Linked DNA regions of Homo sapiens: all the other regions are linked to region 1. Evidence: promoter capture Hi-C in 16 types of primary human blood cells and fetal thymus (Javierre and others, 2016). All regions are on one chromosome and are shown on one strand. Each heading gives the region's core, a stretch centred on a gene start or on the middle of the fragment in contact. The rest is flanking DNA. Distances are from core to core; before and after follow the strand shown. Region 1 holds the start of LDAF1 (lipid droplet assembly factor 1). Region 2 has its middle 56 kb from the start of LINC02890. Region 3 has its middle 39 kb from the start of LINC02890. Region 4 has its middle 19 kb from the start of LINC02890. Region 5 holds the start of USP31 (ubiquitin specific peptidase 31). Region 6 has its middle 78 kb from the start of LINC02890. Region 7 has its middle 46 kb from the start of CDR2-DT.

Region 1 (4,350 bases), core at 760-3,259:
ATAGTATTATCTCTGACAGCTTATGTTTATTTTTTAGCTTGACAAAATGCTGAAAATATACAGAAAGCAAGAAAGCTGAACACACTATTTCAAATCTCATTGCCTTTTATTCTCCCTAGAAAGCTTTCCTTGTACAACAGTAGCCTTGACCTGTTTCTCTTCTTTATTACTGTACAGGTTGGCTCCCAATTCCATCATTCCATACATCATCATCTACTTACTTGTGGGTAAGTCTATCCCTGCTAAGGAGAACTGCACCTCGGGGGCAGACCTCACCACAGTAATTATACTCTAACTAAACTGCCTGGAATTTTGAGGGGTGTCCCAATCTCATACAATTTTTACTTATTTTTAATAAAGGCAATTGGTTAAATTAGATATATTTTTTAACCCTTGTTGAGTTTTCAAATATAAAAAAAAAATCATTCTTATTTTATATTTCCCAGAACTGGCTGGACACAGAGATATCTTTTCCATTTCTCCCTTTAAACTGACCTGACCTACAGTACAAATGCTTAAAAGATTGTGTCCACGTGGCCAAAATTAATTGAGAGATCCTCACATTTATTTATCATATAGGGGGTAATTTTATCTACTACTAAGCTGTACAGGGTCTAGTATGCAAATTAAAGCACATTTTAATCATCCCAGCTAGACATCCTCTGCTACTTCCCTTTTGTAAAACAAGAAACCCTTTGGAGGGGAAAGTTGAGGAGGGGACTAATCCCACCACCCCACATTCTCTCTTTGAAGCTGCCTCTGGCGTAGGTCTTGAACTTGGGATGTTCCCAGCACTCAGTTCCCATAATCTCATCTCTGCAGCAAGCAGAAACAAGCGGAGTTCCCCTTACAGGTCTCCTTTGGCCTGGGAGCCTCAAGTGCCACCCAGACCGGTTTGGGGAGTCCGATGAGAGAGTGCGTGGGGCGAATGCCATCGGCCACAGCCTTCAAATGCGTCTACCTGGCCACCAATTCCCAGACCCCCTGGTCACTCACTCCTCGGAGGGGCCTCCCCAGGCACGGAGCTGTCTCCCGAGAAGGGAAAGCGAGAACCCGGCGCGGCCAAGGAGTGCCCCGCCTTCTTCACGCCTGGGGGACTGGGCCAGGCCAACACCAGCTAACCCTTTCCCCTTCCAAGGCTCCAAATAAATCTCCTGGCCCTCCCACCCCCGAACCTCCAGGGGAAAACGGCTACCTCGAAAGTTCAAGCTGGGAGGAGGGGTCACATCTCTGGTTGGGGGATGGGAGCTACAGGGCGCCTCGAGCTCACACTGGCCGCCCCTCCCCATCCGGGCCCAGCCTTTCAGCGTTCAAAAGCCAGGGAGACCCAAGGAGAGGAGGAAGGGAGTGAAATGCAGGTGGAGAGGGGGTCCGCGTCCCAGAAGGCACAGAGACTGAATAATGGGAACTCAGAGGGGAGTCGAGTACTTAGTTATTAATTTGGGGGTAAAGAAGCCCCCTTTGATACTTGCAGATCTCTCTGCAGCGATGGGGAAGGGGACCTCGGTGGAGAAGAGGGGCTGGGTGGTGAGGAAGGCGCCCGTTTTCAATAATCCTAGGGAGGTTTGCCTCGACGTCTTCCCCAGGTTCCCCAGAAAGGGGCACAGTCTCGGGGTGTGGTGGTGCTAGCTACCATTTTACCTAATCTAGTGGTAGTGTGTGTGTGTATGTGTGTGTGTGTTGGGGGGTGGCGGGGTGAGTGTGCATTTAGGGGTGGGGAGGAATCGTGTCTCCTCGTGCGCTCCCAGCCCCGTCCCGGCGACTCATAAGCAGGAGACGCCCCTTACACTAACCCCGGGGCAGAAAGCTACGGGCGTGGGACCCCGATAGCGCGCTCACGCCGTCGCCCCCGCGCTCCTCCTCTGTCCCCGCCCGGCGAGAGGGGTCTAGCCACCCGGGGCACCCGGACCCCCACCCCCAAGCTCCGAGCTCTCACCTGCTCCTGACCGCCGAGCAGCCCCCACCGCGTTTGCAGGCGAAGCGAAGAGAGGCAGGAGGAGGAACAAGAGGAAGAAGGAAAGAGCGTCCCGAGAGGGAGCCAGAGCCGCCTGCCTCCGCCCCCTGGCCCGGGCACCGCCCCTCGGCTCTTCTCCTCTGGGCTCGCCCCGCCCGTGGCCGGAAGGATCCGGCAAAGGCGCGCCAAGGCCCGGCGCCCAAGGCTTTGCAAAGCGCGCTCGCTCCCACTGGCTTTCGGAGCCACTAGAACAAGCCCTGAGAGGTTGACAGCTGAGGAAACTGAGGCTCAGAGAGTGTCCCTTCCCACACGACTGGCTTGGAGTGAGAAAGCTCAGACCACCTTCAAGACAGGCAGACTGGCAGCCGAGAATGAGTTTTCCAAGGGTGTCAGGGTTTCCCCTCCTGTATGCCTAAAACCAGCTGCTCTGGAACGTCTCTGGCGCTCAAGACACACACGTGATGAAGTATCACCCTGGCTGGAAGTTTTTAACCATGACTGCTCAAATGCGAATGTCATAAGCCAGTGAGATCCTTTCAGATGGATTGGATGTCCATTTTACACATGAAAAAGTCCAGGCTGAGAGAGACAAGATAAATCAATCCAAATTCCTCGGTTTGCATGGATCCAAGTCGGAGCAGGAGCCCCTGTTTCCCCTGGCCCCAAATCTGCCCTATAGAGTAAGGTTTCTGAATAGTATGCTATTGACATTTGGGGCGGAATAATTCTGTTTCTGAGCTGTGGATTGTAGAATGTTTAGCAATATCCTAGCCTCTACCCATTAGATGCCAGTTACAAGAACCGCCCCCCCCCACCTCCAGTTGTGTCTCAAAATATTGCCAAATGTCCCCTGGAAGGCCCCATCGTCCCGAGGTGAGAACCACTGCTATAGAGCATGATGGCAACTTACTGTGTGACTAAGTAACCTCTCTGAACCATGGCTTCAACCATAAATTAGAGAGAGGGATAAGCCCAACCATTGGTCTGCTGTTGCACAGTTCTCAGCCACTTTCCAGACAGGGACCTGTGTTGACCGACCTCTCCTCTTTGCCTGTGGCCATAGCAACCTGGAAAATAAGTCTTTAGATAACAAAAAGCTGGCAGGGTGCGGTGGCTCACACCTATAATCCCAGCACTTTGGGAGGCTGAGGTGGGCAGATCACTTGAGGCCAGGAGTTCCAGACCAGCCTGGCCAACATGGTGAAACCCCATCTCTACTAAAAATATAAAAACTAGCCAGGCATGGTGGTGCGCACCTGTAATCCCAGCTACTCGGGAGGCTGAGGCAGAAGTATCGCTTGAACCTGGGAAGTAGAAGTTGCAGTGAAGACACTGCACTCCAGCCTGGGCAACAGAGTGAGACCCTGTCTCAAAAAAAAAAAAAAAAAAAAAGAAGCAATCACAGGGTTGTAGTGAGGACTGGTGCAATAGTGTGGCTGTGGCTGTCGAGAACTTAGCACCTATTGAGGCACAGAGTAGGGGCTCAAAAATATTTGCTTGGGATGATGATTTATGATGATGATCACGACAATGATATGATAAACCACAGAATCCTGCTGTAATTCCACAATAGCAGAAAGAAGAGCTAATGGTGGGGATAGGACAGACAAGAATCCCTAAATTCTTAAGTTTTAGCCAATCTTGTCTGGCGTCATGCACTTTGTTCAGCTGCAAAATGCTGGGTTCCCCACCCAGGAAAAGATTGTGTGTGTGTGTGTGTGTGTGTGTGTGTTTCCTTAGATTACAGCCTTCCAATCATCATTCCCTAAATGGAAGTTGCTTTGGAAAGCTGAGTTAGGGTTTCCACTGGGATTTTTGTTTAAGAGTGCCATCTAGGGGCGTCTCTGTGAATCTTCAAATTCCTTCCACCTCTGGCATTTTTGGCTGGGCCAGCAGAGTTTTGCTTGTCTTTGTGTGATAGATGCTTCCTCCATCACATCATGTGTTCCTCCAGGGCTGGGATCCTAGCATCTCTCCATAGCATCAGGACTTGGCCCTCAAGGAACATGCAGTGGTTGGGTTAAAAAAATCCACGCGCAGCCTCTCCTATGCTTTCCCAATTACTTGCTGCAATGGACTGAATGTCTGTTCCTCTAAAATCCTAACCCCCAATGTGATGGGATTAGGCATGGGGTTTTTGGGAGGTGATTAGGTCATGAAGGTGAAGCCCTCCTAAATGGGATTAGTGCCCTTATAAAAGAGATCCCAGTGGCTCACACCTATAATCCCACCACTTTGGGAGGCCAAGGTGGGTGGATTGCTTGAGTCTAGGAGTTCGAGACCAGCCTGGGCAACATGGCGAAACCTCTTCTCTACTAAAAATACAAAAGTTAGCCGGGCATAGTGGCACATGCCTGTAGTCCCAGCTACATGGGAGGCTGAGGCAGGAGGATCTC
Region 2 (4,371 bases), core at 717-3,216, 1.5 Mb before region 1:
TAGGGTCAATGGGAGAATCCCAGAGGTGTTACTAGGCTGATGAAATAGACCTCCAACTTCCCCTGGGCTTCCTCAGGTCCCCAACACCATCCAGAAAGGAAATTCAGCACAAATCTTTCATATACTCATACATACTCATCTGAACTTATAGCAGAATAAAAAATAAATAATAATAAAAAAAAACCAGAAGGGTATATAAGAAACAAGTAAGTGCTTACATATAAGCCTGAGGGTGAGAATGGGATGTGAATGAGACTGTCACGTGTATATATTTTTGCATCATGTTGAGTTCTGAACTACATGAATATATTACTCAAGTATTCTCTACTCAAAAAAATAGTAAATTTCTTCATAAAACGCACAGAAATGTATCTAGTTCTTGCCATTAGATTTTTTTTAACTATTGAAAAAGCTCTATATTTATCCTTGAAATTACACAGGGGGCCGATTTGAAGCACAGCTGCATTGCACATGAAACGGCAGTGTGTCCTGGTGACAAATTAATAGAAGTCCCTTTTTCTGGTTTGCTTCTCAGGTCTGCTCTCTCGTTACTAGTAGTCTACTTGCAGCTTCTCCTCTTGTTTTAAACAACTCCCCTTCCTCAGGCAACAGCACCCACCCTCACGCTGGGGAACCTCCCTCCCTCATTCAAAACTGTCGGGTGGGACTGTCAATCAAGAGGCTCTCTGCCTGCCCAGGCATGGTCATGTGACCCAGGCTAAACCAATCAGATTAGCTCTCCCTAGAATAGGCCTGGAGGTGCCCCCCAGGCCCCATTCCGGAGAAACGTGGTAAGGTACCTTAATGGGTTTTCAGTTAGTTCCTGTTGCCTAGATCTTTGAGGCAGCCTTTTCAAAAGAGCTTTCTTTCTATTTTAGCTTTTGTTTTTTTGGCTTAAGTTGGCCAGAATCCATTTTTGTGGCTTGATACTGATGCAGTCAGTGATCCTGCATAAAACTCTCCAGTGCATCCTTGTGGCCTACAACACAAAGGGCAGACAGGACAGACAAGTCCCAATGTGCACAACTGTGGCTCAGCTTCCCCACTTTCCAAGCCCCTGCCTCCCCACTGCCCTATCCCCCCAGCCACCTGCCGCTTCAGTCACATGGAATTCCTGCTCTTTCTCCCAAAGCATGGCATAGATTTCTCTGCTGTATTCCCGCTTCCTCACCTGAAAAATTCCCTACCGATCACTCGAGGCAGTGGATTGCAGTGGATCAGAGTGCGAGTTCTGCTTGGGCAGAATGGCCGTTGGTGATTGCTTTTTCTTAAGTCCTGCTCTCCAAATGTAAGATTGGTCAGTCTCTCCTTCCCTGGAGACGCACGCTAGAATCTACCAGGACTCTGGGGCCAGTTCCTGAGCCCATTACAAGGATCCAGGATGACAGTGATTTTTTTTTTGAGACGGAGTCTTGCTCTGTTGCCTAGGCTGGAGGGCAGTAGCACGACCTCGTCTCACTGCAACCTCCAACTCCCAAGTTCAAGAGATTCTCTTGCCTCAGCATCCCATGTAGCTGGGATTACAGGTATCCGCCACCACACCTGGCTAATTTTTGTATTTTTAGTAGAGACGGGATTTCACCATGTCAGCCAGGTTGGTCTCGAACTCCTGGCCTCAGGTGATCTGCCCACCTCAGCTTCCCAAAGTGCTGGGATTACAGGTGTAAGCCACCGCACCTTGCCCACAGCACTGAATTTAAACATGTTTCTGCCAGTTGACCTTGGACAAAGTGCTTGCTTCATATCCTCAGAGGAGCTTGGTTTGCTTATCTTTGGATGTGAATTCTACCAACTTCACAGCGCGGGTTTATTTATTTAACAAACTCTCTGCACCAGACACTGTTCTAGGTGCTTTACACATATTCGTTGATTTAATACTCGTAATACTCGTAACAACACTATAAGGCAGGTACTATTTGTGTCCCCATTTTGCAGATGAGGAAACTCAGCACAGAGAGGTTGTTAGTTGTCTAAGGTTGCAAAGCTAGTATGGGATGAAATGAAAGACTGCATGGGAATTACTTAGCACAGACAGGAGATAATAAATGTTCCATCAAATTGTAGCTATTTGTTATAGACTAAATTATTGCCCCTCATTCATATGCTGAAATCCTAACCCCCAATGTGAGATATGGCCTGCAAAGGGGTAATTAAGGTTAAATGAAGTCATAAGGGTGGGGCCTAATCCAATAGGATTGGTGTCCTAATAAGAAGAGGAAGAGACACCAGGGATGGGTGTGCACAGAGAAAAGGGCATGTAAGGATGTAGCAAGAAGGTGCCGCCTGCAACCCAGGGAGAGAGGCCTCAAGAGAAAGCAAACTTGCCAACATCTTGATCTTGGACTTCCAGCCTCCAGAACTGTGAGATGTAAATTTCTGTTCTTTCCGCTACACAGCCTGTGGAATTTCATTACGGCAACCCTAGCAAACTCACACACTATTGAAGAAAATATCACTTTGTGGTGGAAATCACAGTTGTTTTTTAAACGTACATCTGACAATGTTACCCCAGGAAGTAAACCCCTTCAGCAACTCCTGTACCATTTCCTGGGAGGAAATTGGGACCAGATCCTCTAAGATGGGCTTATACTATGGCCAAGCCTGGAAGAAGACAGGAACTAAGGCATCCCCAGAGGGTAGAAAAGAGGAATCATAACCAACACAGGATAGCCTGATGTTTAAAAGCATAGGCTCACACTGGGTATAGTGGCTCACCCATAATCCCAGCTATTTAAGAAGCTGAGGCAGGAGGATCGCTTGAGCCCAGGAGTTCAAGATCAACCTGGGCAACATACTGAGACCCCTGTCTCTAAAAAAATAAGGCATGGGCTCTGGAGCCAGACTTCCTGGGTTCAAATCCTGGCCCTGCTACTTACTAATTTTGAGGTTGGCAAGTTACTTAGGTTCTGCATGCCTTGGTTTTCCCCTCTGAGAAATGGGGACAATGATAGTATGTGTCTGATGGTTTTATTATAAGTGTTAAATGAATTAATATAATTAAAGTGTTTTGCATGAGTGCTGGGCACTTAGAGCCATATGGGTGCTAGCTGTTACCATTGATAGTTTTGTGGCTACGAAACCACTATTATAACCAAAGTCTTTCTCTCTGCTCGAGATTCAAATCCTAGGTTGAAAGCCTCAGAGAATCCCAGATCAATTCTCCTATTACTGTCCTATGAATCTGCATCAAATAGAAAAGAGCTTATTCCTCAAAAGGAAACTAAAAGAGCCTAGAAATAAATCCACACACAAATGATCAAATGACTTTCAACAAGTGGACAATGTAATTCAAGAAGAAAAGGACAATCTTCAACACATGGTGTTAGAACAGTTGGATACATATATGCTGCTGAGGCGGGAGGATCGCTTGAGGCCAAGAGTTCAAGACCAGCCTGAGCAACATAGCAAGACCTAAAAAGATCTCTAAAAAACATTTTTTTTAATTAGCTGAGCATGGTGGTGTTGCACATCTGTAGTACCAGCTACTCAGGAGAGGCTGAGGCAGGAGGATTGCTTAAGCCCAGAAGTCTGAGGCTGCAGTGAGCTATGATTGCACCACTGCACGCCAGCCTGGGCAACAGAGCAAGACCCTGTCAAAAAAAAAAAAAAAAAAGAACTTAGGCCCTTACCTCACACACAAAAATTAACTCAAAATACTCAAAATGGATCAGAAACCTAAATATAAGAGCTAAAACTATAAAACATATAGAAGAAAACATAGGAGGAAAACTTGTGTGACCTTGGGCTGGGAGGAAAACTCCTGTGACTTTGAGCTAGGCAAACATTTCTTAGAAATAACCCTAAAAAGTACAATTCATGAAAGAAAAAAATTGACAAGTTAGATTTCATCAGAATTTAACATTTTTGCGCTTTAAAAGATGCCACCAAGAAAAATGAAAAGATAAGCCATAGACTGGAAGAAAATATCTGCAAAACACATAAAGGACCTGTACTGAACACAGTGAATGCTTACACTCGATAATATGAAGATAGATAACCTAATTTTTTAAATAAATGAAAGAATAGACCGTTCACCAAAGAAGATGATATACCAATGAATAATAAGCATATAAAAAGTTGCTCCATACCATTAGCTGTTGCAGAAATGCAAGTTTAAGCCACAATGAGATGCCATGACACACTTAATAGAATGGTTAGATAGAAAAGGCCAACAATACCTAATGTTAGTAAGGACATGGAGTAACTGTAATCCTCATATATTGATGGTAGGAATGTAAAATTGTGCAGCCACTTTTGAAAACAATTGGGCAGTTTTTTAAGTTATGCACCAAATATCCAGCAATTCCACTCATAAGTATTTAATCAAGATTCAAATGCAGGATATATCAGGGCAAAGACATATATCCAATT
Region 3 (4,039 bases), core at 1,321-3,820, 1.5 Mb before region 1:
ATTAATAGATTTCCTGTTATTAAACAGTCCTGGGTCGGCATTGAGAATATAAAAAGAAATCCTACAAATCAATAGGAAAGGGATTTTTTTAAAATCTAGTATAAATTAGACAATGGATACAGACAGACAATTCTGAATATGGGAAGTACTCCAGATCAGTAAACACTGGAAAAATTTCCACCTCACTAGTAATCAGGGAAATGCAAATAAAAATGGGAATAAAATCGCATCCCACACAAGAGTTAGCAAGAATGTGGAATACAGAACTCTCACACTCTGTTGATAGGACAGTAAACTGCCACAACCTTATTCACACATGGCAGTGTAAAAAATGTGCACCGTGTTTGTTATAGCATTGTTTATAATAGCTACCGAAAAAAATAAAACAACCCAAATTTGTCTTAGTTCAGGCTGCTATAACAAAATATCATAAACTGGGTAGCTTATAAACAACAGAAATGTATTGCTCACGGTTCTGGGGGCTGGAAGTCTGAGATCAGGGTGCCAGCATGGTCGGGTTCTGGTAAGGGCTCTCTTCCGGATTGCGGGTGGCTACCTTCTTGCTGTATCCTTACATGGGGGAATGAGGGAAAGAAAGCTCCCAGGGGCTGTTTGTGTAATGGCACTAACTCCATTCATGAGGCTTCACCCTCGTGACCTAATCACTTCCCAAAGGATCTACCTTCTAATACTATCAAATCGGGAGTTAGGATTTCAACATTTCAATTTGGGGGACAAGGGACACAAACATTCAGTCTACATGTAAAAAATTATAAATAATGGCACTTTTTTTTTTTTGAGATGGAATCTTGCTCTGTTGCCCAGGCTGGAGTGCAAAGGCATGATCTTGGCTCACTGCAACCTCTGCCTCCCGGGTTCAAGCGATTCTCCTGTCTCAGCCTCCCGAGTAGCTGGGACTAAGGCACGCACCATCACTCCCGGCTAAATTTTGTATTTTTAGTAGAGTCAGGGCTTCACCATGTTGGTCAGGCTGGTCTCGAACTCCTGACCTCATGTGATCCACCCACCTCCGCCTCCCAAAGTGCTGGGATTACAGGCATGAGCCACCATGCCCCACCAGTACATTTATACAATGAATGAGCTAGATCTACTTGTATCAACATGGATAATCTCAAAAACAGAAGGCTAAATGAACAAAAGCCAGTTCCACAGGAACACACCTAGAATAAAACCAGTTATGGAATTTTAAAGAACATACAAGATAATATGTAGCTAAATATTGATGGATACTTATAAAAGTGGTAGGGATATGAAACATATATTGGAAAGATAAATACCAACTTCAAAATAGTCCTTATCTCTGGTTTTTGCAATTTATAGGGGATGGAAAAAGGAAGAGAAGAAAACCCAGGAGGGGTACAAAAAGTGTCACTGTAACCTATAAGATTTTATTATTTTTTTTTTAATAAAATGATTTGAAAAACAAACGTCTTTGCATTCCTAGGCTAAATCCTCCTTGGTCATGGTTAGTGACTCTATTAATGTATTATTGAATTCTGTTTGCTATTATTTTATTTATAGTTTTTCATCTAGTGCCTTGGTCTTCTGTTCTATTTTTTTTCCACTATACTCTTCAAGATTGAATTTCAGGGTTGTATCGTTCTCGTAAAATGAATTAGAAAGTTTTCCATGGTTTTCTATAATCTGGAACCATTCATTGAGTATAGGAATAAATTTGTCACCAGAAAATTTGAAGAGAACAAATACATTAGAAAAATCTGTTTAAGGAGGCTATTTTAAAATGACCATTTGATAATACTTTAACTTTTCTATTTTTATTTATTTTATTTTTTAAAGAGATGGGGTCTTATTCTGTCACCCAGGCTGGAGTGCAGTGGTGTGATCATAGCTCACTGCATCTTCAAACTCCTGGTCTCAAGGGATCCTACCACCTCAGCCTCCGAAGTAGCTGGAAATACAGGTGCACACCTCCAAGCCCAGATAGTTTTTTATTTTTTGTAAAGATCAGGATCTCACAATATTGCCCAGGATGGTCTCAGACTCCTGGCCTCAAGCAATCCTCCCACCTCGGCCTCCCAAAAAGTTGCTGGGATTACAGGTGTGAGCCAGCATGCCCAAGCACTTTTTATTTTTGTATATTTTTTTTATTCCAGACATTACTTTTTCATAATTCAATTTTTGTAATTCATATTTTATTAAAAATATCTGCATCATTGAATCATTTGTATTTCCTTACATAGAGTCACACTGTAACATCTTGGTGATTTTTTTTTTTTTTTTTTTTTTTGAGGCAGAGCCTCTCTCTGTTACCCAGGCTGGAGTGCAATGACACAATCTCGGCTCGCTGCAACTCCGCCTCCCGGGTTCAAGCGATTCTCTTGTCTCAGCCTCTGGAGTAGCTGGGATTACAAGCATATGCCACCACACCCGGCTAATTTTTGTATTTTTAGTAGAGATGGGGTTTCACCGTGTTGGCCAGGCTGGTCTCGAACTCCTGACCTCAGGTGATCCACCTGCCTCGGCCTCCCAAAGTGCTGAGATTACAGGCGTGAGCCACTGCACCCAGCCCCTCCTGACATATTCTAAGTTGGGCCTAAGGTTTCTCCGCACTTAGTGAACTGTAACCTAACTGGATGTGTCAATAGTCTGTAATCTACTCTTGTGCCAATCACCAAGTTTCGGCCAATCACAGGCAACCAACTGTTCAAACTGTGTTCAAATATGGCAAATGCCAAGCTGTGACCAAGCCAGCTGTTTCTGCACCTCACCTCCCTTTTCTGTCCATAAATCCTCTCCAACCACACGGCAGTGCAGGAGTCTCTCTGAAAAGGAGGACTGCCCTATTCTCAAATTGTTCTTTGCTCAGTTAAACTCTGTTAAATTTCATTTGTCTAAACTTCTTCTGGGCCAAGCATGGTGTTTCACACCTGTAATCCCAGCACTTTGAGAGGCTGAGGCAGGAGGATTGCTTGAGACCAGGAGTTCAAGACCAGCCTGGGCAACATAATGAGACCCCATCACTAAAAAATATTTTTAAGTCAGCTGGGGTGCGGTGGTGAGCACCTGTAGTCCTAGCTACTTGGGAGGATGAGGTGGGAGGATCACCTGAGCCCAGGGAGATTGAGGCTGCAATGAGCTGTGATTGTGCCACTGCACTCCAGCCTGGGCGACAGAATGATACCCTGTCTCAAAAAAATATACACCATGGAATACTATGCAGCCATAAAAAAGAATGAGTTCATGTCCTTTATAGGGACATGGATGAAGCTGGAAACCATCATTCTGAGCAAACTATCGCAAGGACAGAAAACCAAACACCACATGTTCTCACTCATAGGTGGGAATTGAACAATAAGAACACATGGACACAGGGTGGGGAACATCACACATTGGGGCCTGCCAGGGGGTGGGGGGAGCGGGGAGTGATAGCATTAGGAGATATACCTAATGTAAATGACGAGTTAACGGGTACAGCACACCAACATGGCACATGTATACATATGTAACAAACCTGCACATTGTGCACATGTACCCTAGAACTTAAAGTAAAATAAATAAATAAATAGGAAAAAAAAGAAAAAAAAAGAAGGCAAAGAAAAAAATAAAAATAAAATAAAATAAAATAAAGTTCTTTAAACACCATGAAACAGACCTTGACAAGACATGCATATCCCCTTATGCCTACCCCAAGATTTAGGATGTCACACTGTACCTGTCCTTTGCGGTAATTTGTCTTAAGGACACAGGTACAAGTTATCCTGTTTTATATGCACTTTAATGAATTTTCACTTCAAATTCAAGTTGCAGTATATGTCACATGCCGCCTTCCCTTCAAAGTAACTAATGTCAACAATTTACTATGTATTTTTTCCATGTTTTTCCTGAGTTCATGCAAGCATCATACATGAAAACCAGATGAAAGGTTTTCTTTCTTTCTTTTTTTTTTTTTCAGAAATAGGATGATATTACACAAATGTGCTTCTTTACTTAACAAGAAAGTATAGGCATCTCTCCATATACCTGGCTTTTTTCAACAGTTGCATAAAATTCTGAAACA
Region 4 (3,986 bases), core at 1,108-3,607, 1.5 Mb before region 1:
AGAAAAGCATCTGGGGAAGAACTGCCATGGAGTAGGAACTTTATAAATGGTACTCAACTCACTACATTTCTTTTAACCTCCTTACCCCTGGAAAGAGGAGAACCAATTAGCAACAGCTAAGAAAAGACATTCACGTTTTCCCAATACTCCTGAATTTTCTACAGAAGTGTTATCCAGGATAGAATTTGGAGACAGACGTCCTTCTCTATTTTCCTTTATGGAAGTTGGCTACCACTGTATAGACACTTACCTCCAGTCCCAGGTGTGACCCAAACCAGAAAGCCTCTCCTAAAACATGGGACCAATCCTGGGAAATGCCAGATATGGCTTTTGTAACTTAGGTAATAGAAATGATCTCTGTGAGTCCCACATGATCAAATACAAAATTATACAGGATTCAAATTAATCACATGGACAGGCATAAAACACCAGACTCTAAATATTATTTACCCAGCATCAAGCAGATGTTTGTTTCCAAAGCTACAATCTCCTCTAATTGGCTGATGCTGTGCTGCATAGACTCCAATGCAAGCTTATGTTCTATAATGAATGACAAATGCCTAGAAGAATCCTCTGTGAATTGGCAGCCTCCTCCTCTAGCATGCAAATTATGCCGAAATCCCATCAGCAGACGCAGATAAGCTCATCTGCATGATTGGCAAACTAGTGGATAAACACACCCCAGGATTCATTGTCCAAATTCAATTTGGTGGTTTCATCTCCATTTTCAGTGATCATTTATTTGTTAATTTATTCATTAGCCAACATGATGAAGCAGCTATTCGGAAACAGGCACTGTCTTAGGCTTTAGGAATACAAAGGTAAATAAAGATATGGTCTCTTCCTTCAAGAAGTCCACAATGAAGGAAGTGAGACGAGGCCGGGAAAGAAAACGAACTAGGAACAAGTACAAAAATAGAGATATGGGCAAATGTCAGTGGTGATACAGAGGAGGGGTGATCAACTCTACCTACAGGGGTTGGAGATGGTGCCACAGATTTTCATGGTGTAGCTTAGAGGAAGATGTTAGCTAGACAGACAAACTGTAGAAAGGGGGGTTTCCATCAAGAGTGTTCTCTTGCTGTTGCAAGAACACTTGACGACGTGCGTCCTGTTCTGGGAACCACAGGAGTTTTATCTGGCTAAAGCAGAAGGTGCCAGTGTCTGTTCTATTTTGGCTCCTTTAAAAATCCACCCAAGGCCAGCTGTTGTGGCTCATGCCTGTAATCCCAACACTTTGGGAGGCCGAGGTGAGAGGATCGCTTGAGGCCAGGAGTTTAGGACCAGCCTGGGCAACATAGCAAGACATCCCCATCTCTACAAAACATAAAAAATTAGCTAAGCATGGTGAGGTGTGCCTGTAGGCCCAGCTACAGGGAGGCTGAGGCAAGAGAATCCCTTAAGCCCAGGAATTCAAGGCTACAATGAGCTACGATCTCACGTCACTGCACTCCAGCATGAGTGACAAAGTGAGATCCTGTCTCTAAATAAATAAATAATTTTTTAAATTAAATAAGTATAAATAAAAAGCTTTTAAAAATAAAATCCACCCAGGTGGACATGTAAACTGCACAACCCCTTTGAAAGGCAGCATGGCTATGTCTATTGAAATTTAAAATGTGCCTGTCTCTGTAATAATTACGGAGGCAATGGATTCAGGTCCTCATGGCCCAGTTAGTTTTTCTCTGTCTCACAAGCATAATTATACATTTCCTCCACAAAATGTGCGATCACGAGGGAAAAAAAAAATCTTGGATGGGTTAACAGAGGTTCATATTCATTATGGAAATACATTACGATTGTGTTTTCTTTCCAAGGTCTGTTGTCCTAACAAGATCTTAAGCATTGTGAGAAGAAAGGCTGTGCCTGTTCTGTGAATCCTGTTATCAGCAGTGCCTAAGATAATGCCACCACACAAGACCTTAGCAAATATTTAGTACAGACATACATACTTGGATAACTAAATGAATGAATAAAACATCTCAAAGCCTAAATCTACAAAAATTTTAAAAAATAATAAAATGCTTATGTCTTGTTTGTAGTAGCAAAAGATCAGGGAAAAGTGATCTATAAGAGACTAGTTAAAAAAATTATAGCACATCTATGTAAAGAAATACTATGTAAATTAAATACTATGTAAAAAGGCATGAGTTAGCCGGGTGCTGTGGCTCACACCTGTAATCCCAGCACTTTGGGAGGCCAAGGCAGGTGGATCACTTGAGGTCAGGAGTTCAAGACCAGCCTGGCCAACATGGTGAAACCCCATCTCTACTAAAAGTACAAAAATTAGCCAGGCGTGGTGGCACGTGCCTGTAATCCCAGCCACTCAGGAGGCTGAGGCAATAGAATCACTTGAACCCAGGAGGCAGAGGTTGCAGTGAGCTGAGATTGTGCCACTGCACTCCAGCCTGGGCCACAGAGCAAGACTCTGTCTCCAAAAAAAAAAAAAAAAAATAGCATGAGTATACACTCTCTATAGTTATAGAAGATTTATGGTTATGGGAAGAGCTCCAAGATATATTATCAAGTGAAAAAAAGTGAAATAAAGAAGAATATATATATATATATATATATATATATATATATAGTATGGTATCTTTTGTGTAAGAAAGAAGAGAAAATAGGAATACATGTTCTTCTTTGCTTTGTTTTCATAAAGGAACTGTGGAGGTATACACAACAAATTAATATCTACAGGGGTGAGAGAAGGGAAAATAGATTAGGAAAAAGATGGGGGAAAGACTTTGTGACATATATCTTGCATATCATTTTTTATTTTTGAATTAACTAAATGTGTGACCTATTCAAAAAGGAGAACTTAATTTTAACATGGGCCTGCCTCATGGCCCAGAAATTTCAGTCTTGGTATCAACCATAGAGAATCACTCACACATGTGCATAAGGAGGTATATAGAAGGATATTTGTTGTAGTACTGCTTATTATAGAGGAAAACACAGTAGAAATAACCAAAATGTCCATTAGTGGAGTTACAGAATAAACTGTGGCACGTTCATACTTTGAATATTATGCAGGAGTTAAAACCACGAGGTAGATGTATGTCTACTAACATGGACAAATCTCCAAGATTTACTATTGCGTAAGAAAAATCGAGAATGGTGATTGTCAGGGGCAAGGGGAGGGGAAAGCGATGGGCAGATGTAGGTCAAAGGGTACAAAGCTTCAGTTAGGAATAAGTTCAGGAGATCCATTGCATAGCATGGTGACTATAGTTAATAATAACGTATTGTAAGCAAGGTGTAGTGACTCACGGCTGTAATCCTAGCCCTTTAGGAGGCCGAGGTGGGCAGATAGCTTGAGTTCAGGAGTTCGAGAGCAGCCTGGCCAACATGGTGAAACCTCATCTCTACAAAAAATACAAAACTTAGCCTGGTATAGTGGCGTGCGCCTGTAATCCCAGCTACTTGGGAGGCTGAGACATGAGAATCACTTGAACTGGGGAGGGGGAGGTTGCAGTGAGCTGAGATGGTACCACTGCACTCCAGCCTGGGCAACAGAGCAAGACTCTGTCCAAAGTAATAATAATAATAATTAATAATAATAATAATAATAATGTATTGTATACTTGAAAATTGCTAAGAGTAGATTTTTTTTTTTGAGACAGAGTCTCACTCTGTTGCCCAGGCTGGAGTGCAGTGGTGTGATCTCGGCTCACTGCAACCTCAGCCTCCTTGGTTCAAGTGATTCTTCTGCCTCAGCCTCCTGAGTAGCTGGGACTACAGGTGCACCACGACACCCTGCTAATTTTTTGTATTTTTAGTAGAAATGGGGTTTCACCATGTTAGCCAGGATGGTCTCTATCTCCTGACCTCAGGTGATCTGCCTGCCTTGGCCTCCCAAAGTGCTGGGATTACAGGTGTAAGCCACCACGCCCAGGCTAAGAATAGATTTTAAATGTTCTCACAACAAAAAAAAATAAGTCTGTGAGGTGGTAAATATGTTAATTAGGTTGATTTAGCCATCCCAC
Region 5 (3,918 bases), core at 681-3,180, 2.0 Mb before region 1:
TACACACACACACACACACACACACACACACACACACACACGACATTGTTTAGGTATAAAGTTGCCAAATAATCAACCTGTTATATAATGGCTACCTTACTGGGTACCGAATAATGAGTAAGATGGGTCTCTACTGGGTTGAAGCCCACATATTAGTGAAGGTGATGATTGTAAACTGAATTGCAATATGGTCAAGTCAGTGTCATGAATGAGAGGTGCCAAGAGGGCCTGTGGAAGGGACATCTCCTGGAGGGGGTGATATCTAAGGTGGGACTTTAAGGATGAGGGGAAGTTAGCTAAGTAGAAAGGTTCTAAGTTAGCTAAGGAAAGGTTCAAGGGAGAGGGAACGGCTCCAGCAAAGGCCCTCGAGTCTAGATCAAACTGCCCAGAAGTTGAGGGCCATTGCATTCACATTTTAGTGTGAATAATCAGATGGCTTTCTTCCTGGTGTCCAGATAAGAATTTTGACTAAGAGGAGAGTGGAGCCGATTAGGGACAGTGCAGAGCACCCTGGAGATGTCATCATAGAGCCCTACTTACATTGGGGAGGGAGGTCAAAGGTAAAAACCATTTACTTTGAAACGTGGTGTAAGGTGGCCTTCATGTTTTAAAAAGGAGGAAGGGCTCTCCCTTCTCTGATTTCTCTCTTCTGCCTCAGGACTCAGACTAGCCCTTTTAGCAGAGGGGAGCCTATAGAGAGGAGGTCATATACTAGTTGATTTTGGACTAAAGGCATCCCAAAGATGTACTATTTTTTGCTCCCTGCACTATTTTTTTTTTAATGGAACCAACGTTTAAAAATAGGATTTCTGCCTTCTCTTAAAACATCAGATGATCTGGTAACGCTGAGCTCCTGTTCTCACATGGGAACAACTGGCTGGAGCTGAGTGGCAGCCACCTCTTTAGAAAGATGTTAATTTGAAGTCTGCTATAGTCCCCATCATTCCTTATATTTCCCCCAACACTGAGACCCAAGTCACTTGAAAGTCAATATGATGATTCAAACACCAGGATTCTTCACTCATTTGTGGGTTTGTGACCTGTGATATTTGTGGATTCGTGACCTTTGGTTTAGAGGTCAAGTATAGGGGTTGTAAATAAAACTTGGGTTTGAATCAGATAAGAACTGTACCAATCTCAAAGACGGTGAATTAAAGATTAAAGAAAATATTGCATGCTTGGCATAATGTGTGGAACACAACAGCTATTGTAAACACCCAGTAGGAATGTAAGCTGCAAGAGGGCAGGTAGAAACCGTGCTAATTTAATCCGCTGGGGATATGACATTTGATTCTAATTTAATAGGTTTAATTCTTTGCAATATCCCCAGTAACTGCTGAATGAATGAGTGAGTGAATGAATGAATGGAATGATGAATGATGGGAGAGCCCGGAGGAGTTTTAAAGGCTGGAATGAAAAGGAAAGTAGTTATGATAACAGCGTTTCGCTGGGACTCCAAGGTGCAGCCAGGAAGAAAAGCCCGCTGGGACGTGCCAGGGTCTGTGACTGCGCTCCGCTGGCACCCAGAGGGTAGGTATCTGCAACGTCCCTTGGGAGCCAGACAGGGCTGACTTGCCCAGGACCTGTCAGGGCCATGTCCACCAGCTCTTGCACGGTCTGGTAACTGACAGCATCCTGATTCCTGCACGTTCCCGCCTCTGCCATCTGACCAGCAAAGACAGAGACCCACCCCGGGGATCCACCATCCAACGGGAGCCCAGCCTTTTCCTCCAAGCCGGGACGGCGCCCACACTAGACATGGCCTCCCTCGGGCTTCACGCAGCAGGACCGCGCCCGCAGCCTCCAGGCATCGCGTCCGGCTGGAGAGGCAGCTACCGTCCCACAGTGAACATGGCGGCCGAGGCGGCTTCAGCGCCGGGCGGGCGGCGCCGGGAGGCACGTCACGTGAGCGGCTCAGCTGGGCGGACCGCGCGCGCGCCCGCTGGCCCCGCCGGCCGCCGCTCGCTCGCTGGCTCGGCTGCGCTTTGAGGTGTGTGGGGCGTCGAGCCCCCGGGCCCGGTGAGGCGCGGCGCTGCGGGATGCGGCGGCGGCCGTGGCGGGGCCGCGGGCCGGGCGGGCGGGCGCGGTGATGAGTGTCTGCGGCCGCCGCCATGTCCAAGGTAACGGCGCCTGGGTCCGGGCCGCCGGCGGCGGCGAGCGGGAAGGAGAAGCGCTCCTTCAGCAAGCGGCTGTTTCGGAGCGGCCGCGCTGGCGGCGGCGGCGCGGGGGGCCCCGGGGCGTCCGGGCCGGCCGCGCCTTCCTCGCCCTCCTCGCCCTCCTCTGCACGCTCGGTGGGCAGCTTCATGAGCCGCGTTCTCAAGACGCTGTCCACGCTCTCGCACCTTAGCTCTGAGGGCGCCGCCCCAGACCGCGGCGGCCTCCGCAGCTGCTTCCCGCCCGGGCCGGCCGCCGCGCCCACGCCGCCGCCGTGCCCGCCGCCGCCCGCCTCTCCCGCGCCGCCCGCTTGCGCCGCCGAGCCGGTGCCCGGCGTGGCGGGGCTCCGCAACCACGGCAACACGTGCTTCATGAACGCCACGCTGCAGTGCCTCAGCAACACCGAGCTCTTCGCCGAGTACCTGGCGCTGGGCCAGTACCGGGCGGGGCGGCCCGAGCCCTCGCCTGACCCGGAGCAGCCTGCGGGCCGCGGCGCGCAGGGCCAGGGCGAGGTCACTGAGCAGCTGGCGCACCTGGTGCGGGCCCTCTGGACCCTGGAGTACACCCCGCAGCACAGCCGCGACTTCAAGGTGAGCCCGCGCGCCGCCGCGCCCCCACTGCACCCCGAGCCCCTGGGGCACCTGCCCGCCCAGGTCTTCCTTCCCTCGGTTCCTCTTGGCCCGGCAGGCTTCTGCATTGGTTGCTCCGAGTGGTCTGGGCAGTCGACCAGTGATTTTAAGGAGATTCATTCATTCATTCATTTATTCACTCACTCACTCACTCAAACATGTATTTATTGAGAACTTACTACATACGTGCCCATACTCTGTGATAATAGGCAATGGGAGTGACGTTGCAATGAACAAGACTATCCGCCTTCATGGAACTTGCATTTTTGTGGGGTGGGAGTGTTGAGCATGGGTTCAAATCCTGGTTCTGCCACTTACTAGCAATGTGACGTCGGGTAAGTTAAGCAGCCTCTCTGTTCTTACAGTTTCTTCATCTGGGGGACCTACTTTGTAAGGTGGTTGTGAGCTGCAAACAAGTTAATATATTAAATCGAACACTGTGGAATTACCCATATTTAACCGTTTTTTATTTACAGATTGGCACTTTTATAGGGTTCAACCTGATAAGTAAAATACTTCCATATCATGTGTATTTGCTGCTATTATTTTTGTTATTAAAGACTTGAAGAAGTTAACGAGATAATATCAGATAGTGGTTTGAAGAAAGAAAAACCTGCTGCTGTGATTGATGTGCTGACAGGCTACTTTTTATTTTTATTTTATTTTTAGAGACAGGGTCTTGCTCTGTTGCCCAGGCTGGAGTGCAGTGCTCACATAGCCTCAAACTCCTGGGCTCAAGCAATCCTCCCGCCTCACCTTCCAGAGTATTTAATAGCTGGGACTACAGACACACACCACCATACCTACCTATTTTTTATTTTTAAAACACTTTTGTAGAGACGGGGGTTTTGCTGTGTTGCCCAGACTGGTCTTGAACTCTTGTCCTCAAGCCACTCTCCCCGCTTTGGCCTCCCAAAGTGCTGGGATTACAGGGGTGAGCTATACATCCCTGGGGGTATGTATGGCCCTTGGCCAAGCCCTCCTTTGCTGTTTGCTGGTGGGGCTGCAAGTGTAGTGAGAGGGTGAGATTTGAGAGCCGAGTGGTGGGCTGGGACCGGATGGTATGGGACCATTTAGGATGCACTAAGAAATTGGGCGGTTACTCTAAGCAGAAGGGGAACATGATGTGAGATTG
Region 6 (4,001 bases), core at 1,019-3,518, 1.5 Mb before region 1:
AATGCAGAAGAGGAGAGATGTCACTTCTGGAATTAGATTACAAAGAGATGGCATCTTCCGTCTGGAGCACTCTCTCACTCTCACTCCAAGGGAAGCCAGCTGCCATGTTGTGAGCTGTCCAAGGATCCCAGTGACAAAGAACTGAGGAAGTCCTCTGGCCAGCAGTCAGCAAGAAACCGAGACCCTAGACCCTTAGCTCCAACAGCCTACAAATAACTGAAACCTTCCAAAAACCATGGGAGGGAGCCTAGAAGCAGATTCTCCCCAGCTGAGACTTCACATGAGACCACAGCTCCAGCATGTACTCTGACTGCAACCTGGTAAGAGACTTTGAGGTCTGACTGCAACCTGGTAAGCAACCTCAAGCCAGAGATACACAGGAAAGCCATGCCCAAATTCCTAACCCACAGAAACTGAGACAATAAATGTTTGCTGTTTCAAGCTGCTAAGTTGTGGAGTGATTGGTTATGCTGCAATAGTTAGTGAGTGCATCTACTCTGTGCCTAACACTTCCTAGATGTTAGGAATAAGACTTGGTCCCTGACGTCTGAGCATTTATAGGGGAAACAATGATATAAACAAATGATTCCAGCACAACATGGCCCAGGGTGGAGAATTGCACTAGTGGGCAACTGTAATGGAGGGAAACCAGAAAATATTCACAGAGGAGGTGAAATTTGGTTTGCATCTTGAAGGATGAATCAAAGCTAGCTAGACGGATGAAGGGGAATGGATAGTCAAAGCAAAGAGAACAGATACATGCCAAAGTACAGAAGATGAAACAGCAATTAAATATTTGTGGTTGAGTGTAGCTGACAGTAGAGACAACCAAGTAATGGAAAATCTTGCATGCTTTGCAAAAACCTCTGAACTTTCAAAAGACTGTCATGTACAATACATACTTGATTTATTTGAGAAGCTGCACTCTTTAGAAGTCATTTTTAGGTCAGAGGTCACAAGCTGGCATCCCTTGGAGAATATGGCCAGCACACATGCTTCTTTGGCCCTCAAAGTTATTTTACTAGTTTGAATTAGTTATTAACATTTAACAAATAAGAGATTTCAGATGAAGATCCACATTTCCAGCTTTGATTAAAATATCAGAAGATCCCAACAGGTGTGGGGATCACACCTCATTCAAGCTCAGGAGTTCAAGAACAGCCTGGGCAACATAGCAAGCTCTTGTCTCTACTAAAAAAAAAAAAAATTAATAAGCCAGGCATGGTGGTGCATGCCTATAGTCCCAACTACTCCAAAGGCTGACTCAGGAGAATCACTTGAGCCTGAGAAGTTGAGGCTGCAGTGAGCTGTGATCATGCCACTGCACTCTAACCTGAGCAACAGAGTGAGGCCCATCTTAAAAGAAAATATCAGAAGATCTAAACACTGGGATAGCGTTTCCATGTAGCAGTTGGCTGGAGTGAAATGGTAGCTGTCCCTTTTAGACAGAACATGCACACTCTACCAGAGTTCCCATCTGGCCAACTGAAGGGATTTGACTTTGCATCTCCTGCACAGAGAAGATAAATGTGTACTCAATATAAACATCGCATCTGTGAAGGGATGCATTGGTGAACTCCCATCACCTCAGCAAATGAGTGACCGCTTGGAAGGATCAAACAGAAAAAGTATTGATTTTGGGCAGTGATTCCTAGACTTTAATGTGCACACAAATCACCTGGGGTCTTGTTAAAATACAAATTCTGGTGCAGTAGGTCATAGTGAAGCCTGAGATCATGCATTTCTAACAAGCTCCCAGATGATACTAATGCTGCTGGTCCCAGGACCACACTTTGAGTAGCAAAGGGCCAGGGGGCCTTGGCATTGCACTCTACCCTGAGAGTCAGGGTTCTTCTGGGACTACAGCTTATCCTGTCTGCTGAAACAGAGCCTCTTCTAATTGGAGTCAGCCCTGGATTGGGGCTGGCATGGGGATGGAAGTTGAGAGAAGACAAAATAATCAGTGTGCTATTCCTTCCAGAGTTTTGTAGAACTTGTGGAAAGTAAAGTGACATTTATTGACATCTTTCATGTGTTCCAGGTTATCTCAATCAACATGCACACACACCACCACCACCACCACCAATGACAACAACATCTATAAGGTAAGAAGAGAGAAAGGGTAAGAAAGTGCACTCTAGAGCCGAACTGCCTGGGTTCATATCCCAGTTCTGCCATTTATTAGCTGTGTGACTTTAAATGTTACTAACAGCTCTCTGCCTCAGTTTCCCATCACCAAAATTGGGGATCATAATAGTACCTACCTCATAAGCTGCCGTGAAGATTAAGTGATGACACATGGATAGTGCTCAGGACAGTGTCTGGCATCTAGAAAGTGCCCAACAAATATTTGCTATTAATAATATCCCTTCCTTGTGAATGAAGAAAACAAGGCTAGCAGAAGTTAATTAATGTGGGCAGAGATTAAGTAGGGGGGCCAGTTTTTGTCTTTCCAATGACCTTAAGGAGTAAGGCACATGAAGGCCCAAGTGAGACCATATCTGGAGAGAAAAACAGTCCATACCCTTCCTTGAGGCCCTTTTCTATCCCATTCTCCAGTTTAGTCTTGTCTCGGAGACACTGGCTTATGGTAATAATTATAACACGTAAAAGTTATTGAATGTATACATCATCTCATTTAATTCTCACAACAATTTTGTGATGTAGGCACTACTGCATTGTTATTCCTCAATTTTGCAGATGCATGTTCCCCAAGCTCACATACTTGGCAAGTTCCAATTCTGTATAAAGTCATCCAGAAAATAGGACAGGGAAGAATACTCCCCAGCTGACTCTATAAGACCACTATCACCCTACCATTAAAATCAGACAAAGATATTACAGGAAAAGAAGGCTGCAGATGGATATTCTTCATGACTATACATGTAAAACTGCAAAACAAAATATTAGCACATTGAATCCCACAATACGTAAAAAGGATAATACATTATGATGAGTAGTGCTTCATCCCAGAAATGCAAGGTTGGTTTAACATTCAAAAACAAATCAAGTAGTTTACCAAATTCACAAACTAAAAAAGAAAAAAAAATTATCTCAATAGATGCAAAAAACTCGTTTGCAAATATTTAACAACATTCGTTTCTAATAAAAATTTTCAGCAATGTAGAACCTGAAGAGAACATTTTCAACTATGTAGCATCTTCAAATAACCTATAGCAAACATCATAATGAAAGAATAAGTGCTTTCCTCTGAGGATAAGAACAAGGCAAGTATGTTCACTATCACTGCTTCTATTCAACATTGTACTAAAGGTTCTAACCAGTGCAGTAGTGCAAAGAAAAAAGTGGCATTCAGATAGGAAAGAAGTAAAACTCTCTTTCTTCACAGATGATGTGGTCATCTATGCAGAATATCTGATAGAAGCAACAAATAAGCTACTAGAACCAATAATTGAGTTTAGTGAAGTTGCAGGATACAATCTCAAGATACAAAAACCTATTATATATCTATATGATGCCAATAAACAACCAGAAATTGAAATTAATAAACAATACCATTCACAATAACATCAAAAATATTAAATACTTAGAGATAAATCTGGCAAAAGATGTGAAAAACTTATACTATGAAAATTACTAACTACTGCCAAGAGAAGTTAAATACCAAAATAGGCCAGGCATGGTGGCTCATGCCTGTAAACCCAGCACTTTGGGAGACCGAGGCAGGTGGATTACTTGAAGTCAGGAGTTCAAGACCAGCCTGGCCAACATAGTAAAACCCCATCTGTACTAAAAATACTAAAATTAGCTGAGTGTGGTGGTGCATGCCTGTAATCCCAGCTACTCAGGAGGCTGAGGCAGGAGAATTGCTTTAACTTGGGAGGCAGAGGTTGAAGTGAGCCCAGATGGAGTGCACCACTGTACTCCAGCCTGGGCAACAGAGATACCATCGCAATAAATAAATAAATTAAATAAATAAATAAATAAATAAATAAAATGTTGGTCTTGAACCTATACTTATAGGTTCAAGAAAACTCAAT
Region 7 (3,995 bases), core at 845-3,344, 1.3 Mb before region 1:
GTTTTTTTTTTTTTTGAGACGGAGTCTTGCTCTGTCACCCAGGCTGGAGTGCAGTGGCGCGATCTCCGCTCACTGCAAGCTCCACCTCCCGGGTTCACGCCATTCTCCTGCCACAGGCTCCTGAGTAACCCCTTTTGCTTGGTTCTCATTCTCTCTCTTGGCTGCCACCATGCAAGACCTGCCTTTCGCCTTCTGCCATGATTGGGAGGCCTCCCCAGCCACATGGAACTGTGAGTCCATTCAACTTCTTTTTCTTTGTAAATTACCCAGTCTCGGGTATGGCTTTATCAGCAGCATGAAAACAGACAAATATACTGTTGTTTCTTATTAAATGTTATTGGCTTATTTTGAAAACAAAAGCTTACCAAATACATGTGATTATGGGAAGGGGCCAGAAAGTTACACTGCAAGTAAAAATATCAGTAACTATGTTTACTGGGTGGCGATGGCAAAAACAATAGTTTTTCCTTTTTTTTTTTTTGGAGACAGGATCTTGCTCTGTCGCCCAGGCTACAGTGCAGTGGTGCAATCACAGCCCACTGCAGCCTCGACCTCCGGAGCTCAATTGATCCTCCCACCTCAGCCTCCTGAGTAGCTGCATCTACAGATGTGAGCCACCAAAAAAAAAAAAAAAATTATTTTTGACACAGGATCTAGCACTGTTGCCCAGGCTGAAGTGCATCTGGGCTCACTGCAAGCTTCTCCTGAGCTCAAACCACCCTCTCACCTTAGCCTCCCAAGTAGCTGGGACTAGAGCCTCACTCCACCACGCCCGGCCTTGTTTTTCCTTTGTGAACATCGTTCTACAATGCTGTGGGTACATCGCTTTTTCAATATGAAGTTTTCTTTGGAAGTTTATAAATCCAGTTTGGGCCTTGGAGGAAAGCAGTCAGTGATAGAAATTTTGTGACTCTGAGTGAGTTTGGTGGAGCTTCGAGTTGTAGATTGTTTCCCAGGGACCGCTGCAGACACAAAGCCCTGACTGCAGGATCCCCAGTGATAAAAGTGATCAAAGGCGAGTGTGATCAGACGTGCGCTGCAACGCGAGTTGAGGTTTCATCGAGCCTCATTCAGTGGCTCCTGGGGCAGTTGTGTGGATGAAGAGGGCCATGTCTGTGAAGTGCTCAGGATGGAGCTGGTGGTGGGGCGGCCATGCCGGCCACATGGCTCACACCCCTCACCCGTCAACTCGGTGCCCGGCATTTTCCTTAGCTCCTCTGTGGATTAATTCTCATTCTGAAGACGGGAGGCTGAGGTTTCATCTCAGCTCTGTTCCTGGCTCATTGCTGCGCTTCTCTGTACCCGTCCCCTCCCCTGACTAGGGGAATGAGAACCTTGCCTATGGAAACACTTAGGGGATGGTGGCCCGTGACTCCATGCCAGCCCCTCCCAAGCCCAGCCACCAGCTGAGGTCCTGACCACCTTGTGGACCACCCGGTCCTCCAGCCCTGCGCCCACCCCCGCGTCCTCCCTCCTGCTCTTTCGTAGTTCCCTTGTGTTTCTCTGTGCCAGTAGCTGAGCCCCCGTGCCCACCCACTGCAACTGCACCTTCCCTCCCTCCAGGCTTCCCCACTGCGTTGCTCCCCTGCAGGGGCCAGTGAGTGGCTCTAGCTGTGTTCAGACAGCTCTGTGCCTCCTCCTCCCACCCCAGTTCCTCCGCCTTGGAGACAGACGGGGGTGCAGCGGGGCTGAATGGCACTCCAAGCTCGTGGGGCTGGGGAGTCCACATCTGCACCCGCCGCGTGGCTAGCACCCCCTGAGCGTTTTGGTCAATTTGCCATCATCCCACCCCTCAGTGCCGTTGGTGGTTGCCTGACGAAAAGCTGCACTTAATAGAAATCACTGTGGATGCAGGAGATGGACGGTGATGAGCTCAGGACCAGCCAGCAACCCCATCAGGCGGTAATGCCTACCATGGTCACCCATGACTTCCTCTCGCCACTGCTCGGAGCTCCTGCAAAGCCACAGGCAACAACACATTTCTGCTCCGTACGAGAAGCTCCTATTGTAAGTCGGTGACATGGCTGGGGTTTTCTCTCAGCAAATATTGAGCAAACACTGACTGTGCCAGGTGATGTGCTGGGTCCCAAACCCTTCCCAGACCCAGCCCTGGCACTCACGGAGATCCAGCTAGGAAGTCCGGGAAAAGGTCATCGGGGAAATAAACAAAGTCAAGCACAGTGGATGAACGCGCTGCTGCCGCTCCCCACACCTCTTGTGGTGGACATCACTTACGCTTCCTCATGGTGCATGTCACTTATGCTTCCTGGTGCCCTCCCAGATGACCCCCCCTTGGGCCACTACACACAGCTGCACCCGGCAAGAGCAGACAAGGATGGTCTACTCACTGAGCCTGCAAGGCTGGTGTGCAGGACAGGCCAGCTACACTCCCCAGGTGTGTGCAAGACCGGGGACGAGTCAGTCATTGGGAGGTGAGGTGCTCGGGCAGTGTGGGATGGAGGAGGAGGGAGGGAAACTGAGTGTGGGCTCTTCGTATTGGAGAGGAGGGGACGGCCATGGCACAAAGACTCAGATGGGAAAGTGTGAGAAAGCAGAGATTTCAAAGGAGCTACGGTGGAGACCCACAGAAGAGGAATGCTGAGGCTTTTCTGTCTGAAATGCTGAATAGACTCTAGCACACGCAAAACAGCCCACCACAGCGAGCTGCAGGATTCTTCCGGGCTTTTAACAGTGGTCTTGTAAAAAAAATTAGCCGGGCATGGTTGTCCCAGCTACTCAGGAGGCAGAGAGGGGAGGATGGCTTGCGCCCAGGAGGTTGAGGCTGCAGTGAGCCATGATCGCACCACTGCACTCCAGCCTGGGTGACAGAATGAGACCCCTGACTCAAAAAAAAAAAAAAAAAAAAAAAAAAAAAAGACTGGAACATTCAAAACCTGTTGATGGGCTCAAGAAATTCTCAAGAAATTCTCTTGCCTCAGCCTCCTGAGTAGCTGGAACTACAGGTGTGCACCACCACATGTGGCTAATTTGTGTATTTTTTGTAGAGACAGGGTCTTACCATGTTGCCCAGTCTGGCCTTGAACTCCTGGACTCAAGGGATCCAATGACAGGCGAGAGCCACCATGCCCAGCCACATTTTTGCTAAATTCTTTACACTGGTGAATCTCAAAGAATTCTCTGATCATCACACCATATCCTGCTAAGTGTGCAATTAACCTGTGGACTTCAGTTGGACACTTTCAGATTAGCATTAGCTATGTGGGGCCACCAAATGCCAACTGTTAAATTATCACTCAAAGATAAATGACACTTGAGTGTGCTGTTTGAGTTTATACCTCTAAAAAATGCTTATAGTACCATGAGACTAGTGTGCCAACGTGTCTGGCTGCCAACGTGTCTATAGCTGAGCCAATAAGAATTAGTCTCTAGAGCCTCTGTTTCCAAGGAAGTCAATCTCTAGATTCCCACATTGGCTGCATGATGGAATAAGCCAGGGGCTACGAAAAATACTGATGCCTGTTGAAGCTTGGAGGAGCTGGGGTTGGGGTGTAGGGCAGTGATGATCACATATGAATAGAACTGGGAGTCTTTAGTGTTACTGGTGGCAATGTTGAAATGCATGAGGGTTGTTTATTGTATAATGAAGTATTTTTCACATGAAGTCATATGAAGTATTCCATTCCACTGTATTTGTTCTTATTTTAACGATACAACTAGGTAATAAAGGAAATGAAGTATTGTTTTATATTTTAAAAAAACACATATGCCTGGATCTCACGCCCCAGACATTCTGATTTAACTGGTCTAGGGTATGGTCTGGGCATCAGGACTTTTTCAGGCTCCAAGTGATTCTAATGTGCAACAAGGTTGAGAACTATTGCTTTAGGGCCTTCGTGTTCTTTGAGAATACAAAGAAAATTCAGAGAGATAGGTTAAAAACACACTTGCCATTCCTCCATTGCTCTGACATCTATCAGCAAATAAGCTATAACAGGAAATACAGGGCTTTGGGTCTTTTCTATTCCAGATTCTGT

The links. Contacts are between HindIII fragments. The CHiCAGO score rates a contact against its expected background, and 5 or more counts as called.
Region 2: a contact is called between a fragment that was not itself captured here and the fragment with the promoter of LDAF1 in region 1, in 12 of 17 cell types (naive B cells, megakaryocytes, erythroblasts and 9 more). The highest score is 17.4, in naive B cells.
Region 3: a fragment that was not itself captured here is called in contact with the fragment with the promoter of LDAF1 in region 1 in 12 of 17 cell types (naive B cells, total CD4 T cells, monocytes and 9 more); the score reaches 16.4 in naive B cells.
Region 4: a fragment that was not itself captured here is called in contact with the fragment with the promoter of LDAF1 in region 1 in 7 of 17 cell types (naive B cells, total CD4 T cells, total CD8 T cells and 4 more); the score reaches 8.8 in naive B cells.
Region 5: the fragment with the promoter of USP31 here is called in contact with the fragment with the promoter of LDAF1 in region 1 in 5 of 17 cell types (activated CD4 T cells, total CD8 T cells, total CD4 T cells and 2 more); the score reaches 10.9 in activated CD4 T cells.
Region 6: a contact is called between a fragment that was not itself captured here and the fragment with the promoter of LDAF1 in region 1, in 13 of 17 cell types (naive B cells, total CD4 T cells, total B cells and 10 more). The highest score is 14.1, in naive B cells.
Region 7: a fragment that was not itself captured here is called in contact with the fragment with the promoter of LDAF1 in region 1 in 5 of 17 cell types (erythroblasts, non-activated CD4 T cells, total B cells and 2 more); the score reaches 11.1 in erythroblasts.

What each region holds. Positions count from the first base shown.
Region 1 is chr16:21,156,333-21,160,682 of GRCh38, reverse strand. It overlaps LDAF1 (lipid droplet assembly factor 1), which reads right to left and starts at 2,009. Exons shown (of 5, transcript NM_001301771.2): 1 at 1,937-2,009. It also overlaps a transcript of DNAH3 not described here. RefSeq lists enhancers at 728-877, 1,012-1,512 and silencers at 1,770-1,949, 2,000-2,129. The HindIII fragment of the contact is 5,830 bases long and covers 126-4,350 here.
Region 2 is chr16:22,667,067-22,671,437 of GRCh38, reverse strand. No RefSeq gene overlaps it. Among named protein-coding and RNA genes, the nearest start is that of LINC02890, 56 kb to the right of the region's middle. The HindIII fragment of the contact is 7,075 bases long and covers 1-4,371 here.
Region 3 is chr16:22,650,623-22,654,661 of GRCh38, reverse strand. No RefSeq gene overlaps it. Among named protein-coding and RNA genes, the nearest start is that of LINC02890, 39 kb to the right of the region's middle. The HindIII fragment of the contact is 6,772 bases long and covers 1-4,039 here.
Region 4 is chr16:22,630,609-22,634,594 of GRCh38, reverse strand. No RefSeq gene overlaps it. Among named protein-coding and RNA genes, the nearest start is that of LINC02890, 19 kb to the right of the region's middle. The HindIII fragment of the contact is 1,649 bases long and covers 1,533-3,181 here.
Region 5 is chr16:23,147,464-23,151,381 of GRCh38, reverse strand. It overlaps USP31 (ubiquitin specific peptidase 31), which reads left to right and starts at 1,930. Exons shown (of 16, transcript NM_020718.4): 1 at 1,930-2,744. The coding sequence starts at 2,112. RefSeq lists an enhancer at 1,530-1,749 and silencers at 1,930-2,029, 2,180-2,229, 2,330-2,429, 2,560-2,789. The HindIII fragment of the contact is 4,661 bases long and covers 1-3,918 here.
Region 6 is chr16:22,689,067-22,693,067 of GRCh38, reverse strand. No RefSeq gene overlaps it. Among named protein-coding and RNA genes, the nearest start is that of LINC02890, 78 kb to the right of the region's middle. The HindIII fragment of the contact is 6,669 bases long and covers 1-4,001 here.
Region 7 is chr16:22,418,396-22,422,390 of GRCh38, reverse strand. It overlaps the pseudogene RRN3P3. Among named protein-coding and RNA genes, the nearest start is that of CDR2-DT, 46 kb to the right of the region's middle. The HindIII fragment of the contact is 2,788 bases long and covers 701-3,488 here.